2 separate regions of the Homo sapiens genome follow, and region 1 is linked to region 2. Evidence: promoter capture Hi-C in 16 types of primary human blood cells and fetal thymus (Javierre and others, 2016). All regions are on one chromosome and are shown on one strand. Each heading gives the region's core, a stretch centred on a gene start or on the middle of the fragment in contact. The rest is flanking DNA. Distances are from core to core; before and after follow the strand shown.

Region 1 (3,037 bases), core at 533-3,032, 180 kb before region 2:
CAAAGCTAGGCTCCAGCTGCAGGCGGGCTCCCACCCTCTGCTCCTGGCCTTGGGCAAGGGCACTCAGCGCCTCGCCTGCCCCTGCCTTGGCCAATGCGAGGTCCTTCCTTATCCCCACCATGGGGTCCATGGTCTATTTATTCTCGCCCAGCTCACCCTCTACACAGACACTGTCCTGGGTGCACACTCCTCCCTTCCCTCGCTGTGTACTTCCTTGTCCCCTTTTTATTTATTGGGCAGGGGGAGGGGGAGGGCACAGGCAAGAAGAGATTCACAGTGTCCTGGGGTAAGGGGGGGTTCACAGTAATCATGGTCTACTCCTCTTTCCGTGGCTGGGGGTAGACTTAATAAAGAGAGAAATTCAAGAACTGCTTGCTTTATTTAGGGGTAAGGGCAAAGAGGGAAGTAAAATGATGAAAGATTGGTTTAGAAGGGCCAGGCAGAGGCAGGGAAGAAGCAGAAACTCCCCTCTTCTCAGGTGACAGTCACAAAATCTTACAAAGGATCAAAGCTGGAACAACCCTCCCCTTATTTAAAAAAATTCCATAGCAAGTAACCATCAGGGCTGGAGCTCCTTCCAGTTTTTGAATCTTGAACACAGGTTTCCCCCACCAGAACGTCAAGCCCTGTGACCCAGGGGAGGAAGGAGGGGAGAGGATGGGCTAGTAGCGAGAGAGGCGACACATGTCACACTGGCAGGCCCTGGCCGTGAAGATCTCGAGCTCCTCCCTCCGGCTCCCCACACACTGCAGCTGTACTTTGACCTGCGGGAGAGGGGAGTCCGTGCTGCAGTCCCCTTTCTCAGGGCTGTCTAGGATCTCCATCTCTCTGGTCTTCCCGCGACCCCAGCGTCCATCCACCGGGCCCGGGCCCTCCTCACCTTCTTCAGGCCACTGATGGTGCAGCACTGAGAGACGGAGGTGATGTTGTGTCGGTAACCACTGGCCACCAGCACAGAGTACCGAGAAGGGAAGGCGCTGGACTCACAGTGGCCCACACAGGCCTGTGCCACGTGGGAGCCCTGGCAGGTGCCTTGGCGGTCACTTCGCACTGTCACATTGAAGGCTAGAAGGAGATAGGCAAGCAGTAGACGGCGCCTCTGCCAAGGTTTGCCTCGCCCCAGCTCCCGTTGCCTGTGCCTCAGTGTGGGGCCCTTTAGGGTGCTGCCTGCCCCACCGTCCACTCAGCTCTTTGCTCCCACCCAGAACCTCCACTGCTCCTAGCCCTCCGGTCCCAGAGGTACTCACGGTGCAAGTGGCAGCCTGGGATGACTGCCTCCTGGCCCCAGGCTTCAGTGACTGCCAGGACCAGCAGATAGAGGACCAGGGTTTGAGGGGACGCCATAGGCATCTGAAACACAGTGGGGAGATGTCTCTACGTGGGTGTGCAGGTGGGATGGCGAGTTCTTTAAATACTGCATTCCAGGTGAGTGAGCCAGGGCTGGCTGGTCTGACAGGTGAGGTGTGCCTGAATGGTGCTGCCTTTTCCCTGTATCTGCCTTTGTGTGTGTGTGTGTGTGTGTATGGGTGTGAGTGTGAGCAGCTGTCTCTGGAAAGGACCTGTGTGTCAGCCCTCTGTGCAGTGATTCTCCCTTCCCTGGAATTTTCTTCGCCATCTGGAGCGCAAACATCTTCCTCCCTCCATCTGCCCCATCTTGGCCTGCAGGGCCCTCGTCCACATTCCCAGACCCTCCCCAGAGCTCCTCCTGCCTCAGCGAGCTCACCACTTCCGAGGCCCAGGAACAGAGCGGCTTGCAGTTTTCCTGTGCCTCCTGCTGGTCTCCAGCTTGGTGCTGGCTCTCCAGGCTTTTATTTGCCAGCATTTTGGAGCCACGCCCTCTTGGAGATCGGCTTTCAAACCAGCCTCCCCTGCCTGAAGCCTCAGAGCGATCCCACCTGGGGGATCTTGCTCTTTGAGGTGCGGTCCTCGGAGAGCAGCTCCTGCTGCTTTCTGCTTCTTTCTGTCCAAAAAGCTACCCACAGCCCAGGCCTCGATAAGTCAGATGTGGAGAGAAGCCTAGGAGCTGGTGGAGTGTGCAGCGTGTGTGCAGCTGACGACACAGGGGTCAAGACTCTTGGCTGAGTTGTGGACACCTGGGTTCTCTTTGCTCTGTGACCTTGGACAGAACATTTCCCTGTTCAGGGCCTGATCACCCCTAACTTTATTATTATTTATTACTATTATTTTGAGAGGGTCTGGCTCTGTCACCTAGGCTGGAGTGTGGTGGTGTTATCTCGGCTCACTGCAACCTCCACCTCCCAGCCTCCCAGACTCAAGCCATCCTCCCCCTTAGCCTCCTGAGTAGCTGGGACCACAGGCACACCACTATGACCAGCTAACTTTTGTATTTTTTTGTAGAGACAGGATTTTGCCATGTTGCCCATGGTGGTCTTGAACTGCTAAGCTCAAGTGATCCGCCTGCTTAGGCCTCCCAAAGTGCTAGAATTACAGGCATGAGACACTGTGCCTGGCCACACCCCTAATTTTAAAACCACTAAACTCAGTCCTGCTTGCCTTTTTCTAACTGCAAAGGAAAGGGATTGGGGAAGGAGATTCTTAGGGACAAGGGAAATTATACCAGTGGAGGTCTCCTGAGATGTGCTTGGTGGCAGGGCCGGGGGTTTGGGGGTTGCTGTCTGTTTCAGAGTTGCATGGCCACGGTATCAGTGGATGATTCGCATCCTGTGCTACAGAGTAACGTTCTGAGCTGGAGTGCTCCCCTAGCCCTGGAATAACAGGGACCTGACTCCTGAAAGGGCCTGAAGTTATCAACCCCAGCAAAGCTGATCTATTTGTCCAACTCTGGTTTTATAGATGAGGCAACTAAGGCTCAAAGAAAGAAAGTTACTAAAAGTCACCCAGCTAGTTAATGTTAGGGCTGATTTCAAATTCAAATCTGCTGTCCATCCATGGTGCTAAACTACACTTGAGCAAGAATGTGGCAAGCTGGAGAAAGACCCCCAGGCAGCAGTGGCCAGAGGGGTTGGGGCAAGGTGGAGAGCCAAAGGAAGCCTGTGGTGATTCTGGGCAGCCCCGC
Region 2 (2,837 bases), core at 149-2,648:
GCTGCCGCCTGCAGGGCTTCTTCCGCAGAGGCGAAGACTTGCTGGGCACCCAGGGCTCCGGAAACGCCGAGCAGTGTGGCACAGAAGTCAGAGAGCAGCGCGTCGTCACCGCCGTGATACAGGGCGAGAGTATGCGCGTAGGCGAACAGCACATTGGGCAGCTGGAAGCGCACGAGCGGCGAGACTGGGCCGCGGCTCAGGCTGACTATCGCGGGGATGCGGGTGGGTACGACGGGCGTGCAGGCCCCCGGGACATCTCCAAGAACCCGCTCGGCGGCCGCGGGCTCCGCGGCGGAGGCATCTTTCACAGAATCCGGCGGGGTCCTCGCAGGGGCGAGCTCCAGCTCCGCGGCGTCACTACCCGGGGCATTATCCAGCTCCTCCAGAAGCTGCGGTCCGGCTCCGCGGTTCCACCACCACGGCCGCCATGGAGGCAGCAGCCGCCCGGCCTCACCGCGGCTCAGCAGCCGCTCGAAGGCAGCTTTTTCGCCCGGCGCCAGCCGCTCCCAGAGTCCCGATAGGCCGCCGGGCGCCGGGCCGGAGCTGAGGCCTGCTTCCCCAGGCTCGTCCTCGGTCTCGCGTTGCTGACGCAGCCGGCGTAGGGCGCTTGCTAGGCGGCTGGGAGGAGCGCTGCAACCGCGGAGCTCTCCCAGCACCTGGTCACGGTAGAAGTTTTCTGCGCAGGTGCCATGCGTCCGGTAGCAGCGCAGCGAGCAGTAGGGCGCATTACAGCGAGGGCAGGTGTAACGCGCTGGCTGGACCTCCCCCGCCGGGCAGAAGCCACAGGGCCCGGCCGGCTCCATGGCAACTGGCACCGCGATCTACCTGCGAACGCACGCCGGTGGTAGTTCGAAACTTCCGGGGCTTCTTCGATTACTTCCGGTTCGCAGCGCGGCCGACGGCGCGCTGTGTTTTCGCAAAGCTTCCGAGGATTCTCGGCAATTTCCGCCCACGCCCGAAAGCCAAGCCCCACCCCTTTCCCTAGTAGGGCGAGAGCAGGCCCAGAAGCCGGGCGTCAGGTACGAGCCCCGCCCTATGCGATGACGCAAGGAGCGAAAAAATGGGTCTGGCGAGCGCTTCGCCGGTGCCACGTCTCCCCCTAGTGGTCACACCAAAACGTGGCCCGATCATCTAAAGAGAAAACCCTCTTTTTAGCACTACAATGTGCTGTGGCATAAATCCATCTTTACTAGGCACCTACTCTGGGCCACTAATTGTGCCAAGCCTACGGGAGGCGATGCATCCCTGCGCTGGACACAGACAAATAAAATGCACTAGGGGACACAGACAAATAAAAGGACAGTTAGGGCCAGGTACGGTGGGTCACGCCGGTAATCCCAGCATTTTGGGAGGCCGAGGCGGGCAGATGACCTGAGGTCAGGAGTTTGAGACCAGCCTGACCAACATGGAGAAACCCCGTCTCTACTAAGAATACAAAATTAGCCGGGCGTGGGGGACGGGTGCTTGTAGTCCCAGCTACTCCTGAGGCTGAGGCAGGGGAATCGCTTGAACCCGGGAGGTGGAGGCTGCAGTTAGCCGAGATCGCGCCACCGCTCTCCAGCCTGCGAGCCTGGGCCACAGAGAGAAACTCCACCTCAAAAAGATAAATAGAAAGCAGCATTTAAGAAATATCTGAGCTCCTATGATTTTTTTCCTCCAAAACTGCCTCTTCTTTTCATTAAGTATCTTCTCATTAAATACCACTATTCATCCATCTTATTAAGTGCAGGCCCCATTCTAGGTGCCAAGAACACAATGCACATCAAAGGGAGCCGGGGGTCCCTGTTCTAATAGAGCTCACTCTTGTGGTGGAGTGGGGGGTGTGATGAACCAAACTGTGAGTGTTCTTTGCATCCCTGCTACTACTGGTGGTCTAAGCTTCCTGACCCCTCATGTGGATGACAACACATTAAGTGTTTTTCCTAACTTTCTTGCCAGCCCTCCAGAAAAACCTGCCAGAGAAATTAGATCACAAGTCAGATGAGATCCATCTGTTACTCAAAACCCTTCTGCGACCCTCCATTGCACTTGGACTCAAACCCAAACTCCTCTCTATGGCTGACAAGGCCTTGCAGGATCTGCCCGCCCCCAGCCCTAGACATCACCTCTTCCCCATCTTCACACAGTCCTCTAGGCTTGAAATATTCCCCTACCTGATCACTTGACTGGTTCATCTCAGGTCTCACTCACGTCATTTAAACAGGACCTCTCGGCTGGGCACAGCGGCTGACACCTGTAATCTCAGCACTTTGGGAGGCCAAGGTGGGCGGATCACTTGAGCCCAGTTCAAGACCAGCCTGGGCAACATAGCAAAACCCTGTCTCTACAAAAAAGTACAAAAAATTAGCCAGGTGTGGCGGTGCATGCCTGTAGTCCTCAGCTACTTTGGAGGCTGAGTAGGATCACCTGGGCCCAGGAGTTGGCGGCTGCAGTGAGCCATGATTGTGCAACTGCACTCCAGCCTGGATGAGAGAGACCTTGTCTCAAAAACAAAAAAGAAAAGGCCGGGCACTGTGGCTCATGGCTGTAATCCCAGTACTTTGGGAGGCCGAGGTGGGCGATCACGAGGTCAAGAGATCGAGACCATCCTGGCCAACATGGGGAAACCCCATGTCTACTAAAAATACAAAAATTAGCTGGGCGTGGTGGCACATGCCTGTAGTCCCAGCTACTCAGGGGGCTGAGGCAGGAGAATGGCGTGAACCCGGGAGGCTGAGGTTGCAGTGAGCTCGGATTGTGCCACTGCACTCCAGCCTGGCGACAGTGCGAGACTCTGTCTCAATAAAATAAAATAAAGAAAAAAGAAAAACAAAAAAAGAGGCCCTCTCTGGGATGCT

The links. The method cuts DNA at HindIII sites, captures the fragments that hold promoters and counts their contacts. A CHiCAGO score of 5 or more calls a contact.
Region 1: a contact is called between the fragment with the promoter of GPHA2 here and a fragment that was not itself captured in region 2, in 1 of 17 cell types (M0 macrophages). The highest score is 5.6, in M0 macrophages.

The regions. Positions count from the first base shown.
Region 1 is chr11:64,934,111-64,937,147 of GRCh38, forward strand. GPHA2 (glycoprotein hormone subunit alpha 2) reads right to left here and starts at 1,783. Exons shown (of 4, transcript NM_130769.4): 1 at 1,724-1,783; 2 at 1,248-1,350; 3 at 881-1,065; 4 at 361-764. The coding sequence starts at 1,350. The coding sequence ends at 663. PPP2R5B (protein phosphatase 2 regulatory subunit B'beta) reads left to right here. Exons shown (of 14, transcript NM_006244.4): 14 at 1-365. The HindIII fragment of the contact is 3,228 bases long and covers 1-3,037 here.
Region 2 is chr11:65,116,851-65,119,687 of GRCh38, forward strand. It overlaps ZNHIT2 (zinc finger HIT-type containing 2), which reads right to left and starts at 851. Exons shown (of 1, transcript NM_014205.4): 1 at 1-851. The coding sequence starts at 803. RefSeq lists enhancers at 271-814, 807-1,101. The HindIII fragment of the contact is 956 bases long and covers 921-1,876 here.